Regions from separate parts of the Homo sapiens genome. Here all the other regions are linked to region 2. Evidence: promoter capture Hi-C in human tissues and cell types (Jung and others, 2019). All regions are on one chromosome and are shown on one strand. Each heading gives the region's core, a stretch centred on a gene start or on the middle of the fragment in contact. The rest is flanking DNA. Distances are from core to core; before and after follow the strand shown.

Evidence for each region. The method cuts DNA at HindIII sites, captures the fragments that hold promoters and counts their contacts. A contact is called where the count stands out against the background at its distance.
Region 1: a contact is called between a fragment that was not itself captured here and the fragment with the promoter of TMTC1 in region 2, in 1 of the 25 tissues and cell types used here (mesenchymal stem cells).
Region 3: a fragment that was not itself captured here is called in contact with the fragment with the promoter of TMTC1 in region 2 in 1 of the 25 tissues and cell types used here (spleen).

What each region holds. Positions count from the first base shown.
Region 1 is chr12:30,138,906-30,141,970 of GRCh38, forward strand. No RefSeq gene overlaps it. Among named protein-coding and RNA genes, the nearest start is that of LINC02386, 160 kb to the right of the region's middle. The HindIII fragment of the contact is 4,532 bases long and covers 1-3,065 here.
Region 2 is chr12:29,782,667-29,785,844 of GRCh38, forward strand. It overlaps TMTC1 (transmembrane O-mannosyltransferase targeting cadherins 1), which reads right to left and starts at 1,276. Exons shown (of 18, transcript NM_001193451.2): 1 at 784-1,276. The coding sequence starts at 1,085. The HindIII fragment of the contact is 32,748 bases long and covers 1-3,178 here.
Region 3 is chr12:29,521,994-29,525,145 of GRCh38, forward strand. The region is part of intron 11 of TMTC1 (transmembrane O-mannosyltransferase targeting cadherins 1); the gene reads right to left. The region is part of intron 2 of LOC105369714 (a long non-coding RNA gene); the gene reads left to right. Among named protein-coding and RNA genes, the nearest start is that of OVCH1, 26 kb to the left of the region's middle. The HindIII fragment of the contact is 4,073 bases long and covers 1-3,152 here.

The sequences.
Region 1 (3,065 bases), core at 144-2,643, 360 kb after region 2:
ACATGTATTAATAAATGGGAAATTTCATCAGAGATGAAATCGCTAAAAAAGATTCAAATAGAAAATCCAGTGTATACATAATGGAGAATTCTTTCCAGGCTTATCAGCAGACTGGACACAATAGAGAAAAGAATCAGTGAACTTGAAGATAGGCTGATAGAAATTATCCAAACTCAACCACAAAGAAAAATAGTAAGGAAAAAAGAACAGATTATCCCAAAGATGTGGGGCCATCAAATGGTCTTGCATACATATACTTGGAGTACCAGACAAAATATAGAAAGGGGAGGACAGGACAGAAAGAGTATCTGAAGAGGTAAGCTTCAAAATTAATGAAAGAAAACAAACCATAGATCCAAGAAGTTCAGAGAATCTAAGCAGTATAAATACCAAGCCAAGCACATCACAGTCAAACTGCTAAAACCATACATAAAGGGAAAATCTTGAAGGTAACCAGAGAAAAAAAGAAACATTTCCAGCAGAGGCACAAAGATAGGAATTAGCACAATTTTTTTTATCAGAAATCATGTAAGCAATAGACAATGGAATAACATCATGAAAGAATTGAAGGGAAAAAATCTGTCAAGCCAGAATTCTGTTTCTAGTGAAAATACCTTTCTAAAATGAGGGTGAAATGAATTTTTTTTTTCAGACAAACAAAATCTGAGAGTAATTATTTGCCAGTAGTCCAGCATGACAAGCAATGCTAAAGGAGGTTCTTTAGGCAGAATGAATGTGGTATAAGATAGAAATTTCTATTTACACAAAGAAAGAAAGGGTACAGGAAAATAAAAAATGTGGGTAAATATAAAAGACATTTTTCCTAATTTTAATATCTTTAAAAGATGATTGTCTGAAGTCAAAATAGGCACAGTATCTTTTGTAAAATATATGGGAACAGTAGGACAAAGGACAAGACAGAGGAAATGGAAATAAATGATAGTAAGATGCTTACACAATACGGGGAAGGCCATATTATTGAATCTGGACTGTGGTAAGATAAAGATATGTAATGCAATAGTTAAAAAGGAGACTAACTAACAAACTGATATAGTTTGGATATTTGTCCCCTCCAAAGCACATGTCAAAATGTGATCCCCAGTGTTGGAGCTGGGGCCTGGTGGGAGATGTCTGGGTCATGGAGCGAATCCCTCTTGAAAGGCTTGGTGCCATCCCCATAGTAATGAGTGAGTTATTGCTCTATTAGTTCATGCAAGAGCTGGTTGTTTAAAAGATCCTGGCATCCCTCTTGCTTCCTCTCTCATCATGGGACATATCTGCTCCCCTTTCACCTTATTCCATGAGTAAAAGCTTCCTGAGGCCTCACCAGAAGCCAAGCAGATGCTGGTGCCATGCTTGTACAGCTTGCAGAACTGTAAACCCAATAAATCTCTTTTCTTTGTAAATTATCCAGCCTCCAGTATTTCTTCAAAGCAACACAAAGCAGACAAATACATAAGCCAATAGGAGAGGTGAAATAGAATCATAAAGAATTCAAAAGAAGACAATAAAAGGGAAACAAATGAACAGAGAACAAATAGGGCAAATAGAAGACAACTAGTAGGATGGTAAAATTAAATATAAACATATCAACAAAGAAATTAATAGTATAAGCACCTCAATTAAAAGGCAAAGATTGTCAGATTGGATGAGAAAAAGCAAGACCCAATTACGTGCCGTCTAAAGAAAACCCACTTTAATATAAAGACATAGATAAATTAAAAGAATGGAAAATATATACCATGCAAATACCAATCAAAAGAAAGCTGGAGTGGCAATATTAATAGCAGAATATTCCTTAATGTTCTGAATAAGGAACACTACTGTTGATAAAGAGAGGCATTTCATGACACAGGAGTTAATTCATCCAGAAGAAACGATAATTCTAAATGTATACACATCTTATTACAGAGTTCAAATACACAAACAATAGGTGATACAACAATAGTTTTGTTGATTGGTTTGGTTTGTGCCACTACTCAAATGCTGTGACAAAGTGACTGCACCCTTGGTACCCATCACCACCACCACCTTTCTGCTTCCCCAAGTTAAGTGATAATGGTCTTGACGTAGCCATCAGAAGCTCTACAACTAAAGACAAATATTTTTACCTCCCAAGAAAAGAAAAATTTTCATACAAACATGTGTCCCTGGATGTCTTTAAACAAGGAAATTTTGAATCAAACTGAATGAGAGGAAATGCCAAGAAACACAGATAGAACTGTGGGGGGAAGAGATAAAACTTCCAAAATTAGAAATTTGATCTACCTTTATGACATTGAGTTCTAAGAACATTTACTTATTAAGTAGGCTTAAATTTGTATCAAGATACTTTAAAATGAAGGGATTAATATGTTAAGCAAACATGAATCCACAGACATCACTTATCTGGTGGCTATCTTGTCTGTGGAGACTTATTGTTTAACTTCACGCCTATGCATTCCATTATTTCATTCTCACAGGCAGGAGCTGAATGAAGTCAGAAACTTCTCATAGGAATTCAGTCAACAAGGAAAAGTGCTTAAAATAAGGGAAGGAGAAATAATGGTTAACAACAATTTCCTTCAGAAGAAAGTGTCATTATTTATTAATAATATATTATTTAGTCACAGATTTTTTTGTTACAAATTGCACCATCCTAGCTCATTGAACTTTTCTTGTAACTAATATGATGCCATTAATAATAGTCTGAAATATTGTTGGTTTCAGGTTAAACACTTGTATTAATTCATTCTCACAGGCTATAAAAAAAAAACACTGAGACTGGGTAATTTATAAAGAAAAGAGATTGAACTGGCTCACAAATCTGCAGGCTGTCCAGGGCGGCTTCTGCTTCTGGGGAGGCTTCAGGAAGCTTCCAATCATGGCAGAAGGGGAAAGGAAAGCAGGCATGTCTTACATGGCCAGAGTAGGAGCAAGAGAGAGAGTGGGGAGGTGCTGTGCACTTGTAAACAACCAGATCTCGTGAGAACTCTATCATGAGAACAGCAACAGAAAGGGAAATCTACCCCATGATCTAATCACCTCCCACTAGGCCTCACCTCCAACACTGGGGATTACAATTC
Region 2 (3,178 bases), core at 26-2,525:
ACCCCTCAAAAACCTGGCATATTCTCGGTTCCCTTTACGCTTATTCACACCAGAAACGCTGAATCATGACTCCGAGGTTGTAAAAGAAAAACTATTTCGGCTGGGGCCCCAGGGTCCCTGGAGAAGCCTAGGCTCTGCGTTACCTCTCTCTGCACCTTCTAAAGTCTAGATCCAGAGAAGTCTGGCAGATTGGAGAGCCTCTGGGAGCAGCCAAGGGTGCAAGGCGGGGGCTGGGGGGCTCGGGAGAGTTTTCTGCTCCCTCTCCTGAACCCACGCAGCCCTGTCAGCTCAAGGCTCCCGCCTCGTCTCATCTGAACGAAACCCTTAAGGGGCTGATACACTTCTCATCTGCAAAGCTGCCCAACAGCCTCCGAGAAATTCTCTACTTGGAAGCATCGCCACCACCGCCACCCCTCCGGAACCCTCTGGGTCCGCGCTAGTCCCACTTGGTCACGATCCGGCAGGCGAAGGGGTGCGGAGGCGGTTTCACCAGCCCGCTCCCAGCCCTGCCTCGAGAGAGAAGCCCGCTGAGAGGGCAGACAGTTGAGAAACTCGATCCCAACTCCCCAGCCGGCGCCTCCCGAACCGCCCCGAGAGCCCAGATTAGCCGGGCAGTGGATCCCGGAGCAAAGTGCCATGCACATCCTGGAGAGGAGGGAGGCGTGGAGGGAAAGGGCGGCAAAAATGAAATGCCCCCAAGTCAGTCCCGCAACTTCTCCCGGTCCGAGGGACGGGCGGAGGGTAGAGGAGGCAGCGGCGGCTAGCGCGAGGTGAGGGACTCACTTGAAGGTGAGGACGCAGAGCGGCCGGTAGGACTTGTGGCTGGTGTTCTCGGCCATGCCCTTGCCCCAGAAGTCGTTGGTGAAGATGCCCCAGCGGAGCGGGGCGCCGGGCCGCACGTCGGGGTTGTTCACGATCGCCCACACGTCGTCGTGCACGAACTCGCCCTGCAGGGAGCGGCCGTAGCACAGGCAGCTTGCCCCGGCCAGCAGCGCCGCGGCCCCGGCCGGCGCTAGCCCGCAGCCCCGCCGCCGGGAGGGTGTGCGGTCCCCGCCGCCGCCTCGGGCAGAGGTGGTCACCACCATCGCGCCGCCGCCGCCGCTGCTGCCCTGGCCTCTCCCGGGCGTCTGGCATCCTCCCCTACCGGGGCCCCGGCGGCGCGCGGCGTCTGCCCGGAGGGGGGCTCGGGCATGGTGCTGCGGCAGCTGGACCCGCCGCGAGCTCCCCGCGCTCCGCCGCCGCCTGCGCCGCGGAGTTGGCCCAGCTGCAAATAAACAGCAGTCCCCCCGCCTCCCCCGGCCATCGCCACCTCCTCCGCCCCACTGCGCATGCCCGCTCGCTCTCTCTTCCACCGCCCCCCAATCCCGGGACGCGGGCCGGTTCCCCCGCACAGCCCGGCGCCCTCTGCCCCCGGCCCGCCTTGCTTGCAGGTGGACCGGGGTTCGCGGCGCGCGGCTGCCCGGGAGCTGCGGGGAAGGACACCCCAGGTTCCCACTTGCGGTGTCCGGCTGTGCTCACCCCCACGCCCCCGCCCCCATCCTTCTCCCCCGAATGGGGCTGGGAAGGGGCACATCTGGCGGACCCCTCCCGGGGGACCCAGGAGGGTTTAGCAGGTGCGCAGTCTGGAACCCCCACACCCACCTTCCAGGGAGAAAAGTGCCGCTGCTTCCCGGGAAGTTCCCGGCTTTTCAGCACCCGGGACAACAGCAGCGGCGCCCGGAGAGACGCTCTCCACCCGCCCCGCGCTCGCGTCCAGTCGCCGGCTCTGTGCTCTCCTGCCCGGGCTTTCTCTCACCCGCCCGGCGCGGCGTCCCGCTTGGCGGAGGAACCCGCGGGGATAGGGAGCACCTTCCTCAAAGCCAGGAGAAGGGGTCTCCCTGGACAAGGACATCCTGCTCGCCCTGCCCGGGTGTGTTCAGAGGCGCCACCGGCTCTTTAACTTTACAGCCCCTTTCTTGGCCCGCACTTACAAAAAGTACCAGGTTCGAGTTTTGGTTTGGGCCTGGGAGCCGAATTGTCTTCTGAAACATTTCTTATTTTATTGTTTGCTCAAGATAATTTGGGAGATGCCAAGCAAACTACTTTTTCTATCTAGCTGGATCACTTGGGTCTCATTATTTCCTGGGCTGTGGGCGTGTTTGAACAGGGCGGGGAAGAAGGTGGGGATGGGGGGATGGGGAGGTGGGGGCGATTTGTATTAGGGCCTCTGGCTTTGGCTCCTAAACTTCCTGTCTTTCTGAAAGATTGTTTTCTTTTTTAAAATACTAATTTTAATAATATGTCCCAGAGTGATGATTACTAGAATTTCTCCAGGTCTGAAAATTCTATTTGTTCTTTCAGGCACCTTCTAAATTTCCATTGCTGAGTGTTAGAAGTTATCAGGAATTTGACACATCCAGATAGAAAAACTGAAAATAAAAAGTCACCCTTTTATTCTCATCCTCCCCAAACCCTTAAAAAGCTCACCGACATAATCCAGAAATTGTTCCTCTGCTATGAGTATTTGTGTGGCTCTTTACTATAACAACTTACTTTTTAAAAAATTTTAAGACATCTGAGCAGTTGAAAAGTCAATGAATTAAGATAAACTTATTGTAACTCAAAGTACGTTTCACCCATTTTCACTTTGTTTATTTGGTGACTTGAAATTAGTGACTGAGAAATGAAACTGGAAGTCCTGGACATGGATGTTTTCATTCTTCCATCAAAATCTTTCACGCTTGGTAACCTTAATATACCGACTTTAATATCTAGACACACCTGAGTCTATTTCCCCGTATAACACACTACAGCCTTTCCTATTCACCTATTAACTTAATAAAAATATATTAAGGAGATTCTTTGTGCTACAATGTGCTAAGTATAGGATTGGAAGACCCAAAGCTGCTCGTGTGTGTGCGTCTGTATGTGTGTGTGGTTAACACCATAAAAGTCTAGCTTTCTAAGTTAACAGCTGATTGGGATAGTGAAATTATCTTTGCTGAAATCATAGTTGAGGTAATAGGTCAATGTATCAATCCTTACCTATAATTAACGGAGGCTTTCTAGAGAGAACGTCTTAACCCAAAAGAGTGACTCTAGGCCAGGTGCAATGGCTCACACCCGCAATCCCAGCACTTTGGGAGGCCAAGGCAGGAGCGTTGCTTGAGGCCAGGAGTTCAAGACTGGCCTGGGCTAC
Region 3 (3,152 bases), core at 273-2,772, 260 kb before region 2:
AATGTCATCTTTTCCTAGTACAGCTGCGATGGTCATGTAAAATAAGATGATTTGGCACAAAGCACATGCCAGCTTTAAAAAATACATATATGCCCTGAGTATGGACATTTTCCAAAACCTTATCTCAAGTTACTCCTACCAAGCATTCAACCAGACACATGACAAAGGAATGTAGAGCAACAATTTCCTGAGACGTGGCACCTTAAGCTTGTGATTATGTGTTTAGATATTTACATTGAGGGCTGAACAATAAGCCAAGAAGCCCAAATCTGATTTGACCCAGAAAGGGACATATACTTTACACTCTGTAGAATGACCAATGCCATCTATTTGAGTTCCTACATTTAAGTAACATTAGGGAACAAGGTGTGGTTTGTCAAACTTCATCCACACTCCAGCAAAAATAAGGATCCATGTCTCTAAATATATGTTTTTTAATTGCCAAACTCAACAAATTATCAAATTCAAAAAATTTAAAGATGAATTAAAGTCTCAAAATATTTCCTTTCAATCTATTGAAGAGAAGCTTTCTGAAGCTCTCGTCCATTGAAGGACTGACAATGTGTGTGTGTGTGTGTGTGTGTGTGTGTGTGTAATGAAGACAGGCAGAACAGAAATTATATAACAACCTGAGAAAATTAACATCTAGAGAGTACCATAGGGTGTATATTCATGTATCCATTCATTCCACATGCATTTACTGCAATGGCTATAGAAGTATGACATAGTGGTTAAGAACGAGGCTCCCAAGATTTGACTGCGTGGATTCAAATCCAAGCCCCACCATCTACTGTCTGTGTGACCTTTCTTACCCACCATGTGCCCCAACTGTAAATCAGGGACAACAATCATACTTATCTTATAGGGTTGTTTTGAGGATTAAATCTATTAAAACATTTGAAACACTTAGAACAATGCTCAGCACATGGTCAGCACGTTGGTTTATCATGCTGGTCTTTATCCTTACTTATCCAAAATCTCATAGCTACATGGGGACAGAGAATAGAAGCTAGGTTTTCAGTGGGCCAATGGGGAATTGGGGAGCCCTGAATAAAAGCAGTATTTTTGGAAATAAACAAACATGACTGGCATAAACAGTTACACTTTTGGGTATTTGTCCATCTGTTCATCCATCCAACCTGTCCCTCCCTCCCTTTCCTTGACAAATATTTCACGAACACCATTGTTAAAAGAAAAACTTTAGACAAATTAAATGTAACAAAGTTTATTTGAGCAAGAAAGAGTTCACAGATTGGGCAACCCCCTGAACCAGAACAGGTTCAAGGAGACTTTGCCACTGCCATGTGGTCAGGGAGGATTTACAGACAGAAAAAGGAAAGCGACTTACAGAAAACAGAAGTGAGGTACAGAAATGGCTGAATTGGTTACAGCTCAGTGTTTGTCTCACTTGAACATAGTTTGAACAGCTGGCTGTCTTGATTGGCTGATTGGTAGGAGAGAAATAGGCACAAGGTGGTCTGTTTATGCATCCAGTTAGGTTACAGTTTACTAGGTACAGAGAAACTTTTAGGGCAAGCTTAAAATATGTAAGGAGGCAGTTTTAGGCTACATTTAACAATGCTCCCCTCAAAATTGAGAGGTGAACCAAAACTGTAGGCATTGATTTCACTCTACCACTATCGTAAAGGCACTTATTTGGTCTTAAGTTTTACTGGGAAATAGCAGAACAGTGAGCTTTGTAAGATGGTTTTTTTAGGTTATTTTTTTGAAAGAGAGTACAGGGGACCTCTCTGTGTTGGAATCTCTTGTTTTTTGGAGGGCAGAAAGAAAATTCGCGTCTATTTTAGGACTTACCTGTTTAGGATTTTTTTAAAAAATTTTAATTTGATTATGTCACACTTAGCATGAGTGACTCTATTTTGGTTTGGTCTGGTCTGCTGGGGCCTATTGTATGAACTCAGTCCAAAATAATGGCATCTCCTAATTTTGTTTAACAGTTTCTTCCTTTTGGTTATGATTTTACTTAGGTGAGTGTGACCATTAGGCTTTTAACGCCATTCTCAGTTACCATTATTTTAGGGTTTTGGTCTCAGTACATCATTTATTGGTTATGATGTCTTTATGAGAACACTCTTTTTTGAGTTTTTGTCATCTCAATTAAAGAGAGACCATTTGACATTTTACAAATGGCTGTATGTAACCATTGAAAACTTTTGAGGGAACATAGTGTGCCAGAGAGACAATTATAATGATCAAGAAGATCAAATCAAGAGTTTGGAGTATGCTCCTTAGTCAGCATCTCCATGAACCAAACCAACTAAAATGAAATAGATCAAAGAATGAGCCAGAAAAGGAGTCTACTTGTTTTAATCAAGCAGTCTGTTTATTAATACCCTACAACCAAATCTCTGTAATAGTCAATGCATTTATTTACATGTAACAAATAGAGTCAGTAATGGTACAGATTTTTTTCTGTTTATCCAGTAGACAATCTAGAGTAATTTTATTATCCAGCACAACCTTAGCAAGAGAATTTAAAGATGACTTTTGTGTAATCAGTCTTTGTAGTACAATCTGTTATGGAGCCTATTATGAGGGATGAATTGTAATCATTATCTCCTTTAAATTATGGGAAAAGGGGCCTAAGAATTATGTCTAGAAGAGTGTAAAGAAACTCCATGTTTAAACTTCACTAGAAGAGTGAAGGCCCCTGGCAGTGTTGTTTTAAACCTATGATGTAGGTTAAAAGGAATGAACCAATGTTCTGGTTCTGACTGATTATGGAAGAATAAAGATGCCATTAAATGTTTTTGCTCACATTGGTCCTGAATCTTTTCTACCCAGGCATAAGACTGTCAATGTATAATGCTGGCTGCAAAGTCCTCTACAAATAAAGTTATACCTCATGATGTACACAAATCTCCCTTTTTAGTTTTATTGTTTATAGAGGCATAAGCAAGGAAAAAATTAAGAGAGGTAAGAGTCTGATGATAGCAGAAAAGTCTTGATCTGTGATCTTGGGAAAGCTGTCCATGTCTAGGATGCCATTTGTTTTGGGGAGAAACTTTCCTGATTAGCTTTATCTTAAGGTTTCAAATGGGTGTATAGGTCAAAGAGTCTGGAGGGCCCTTTTCAGTTGTGAGATTATGAACCTAAGCTTTGAGGTCCCAAAGTTTTGCTGTAGTGTGGGT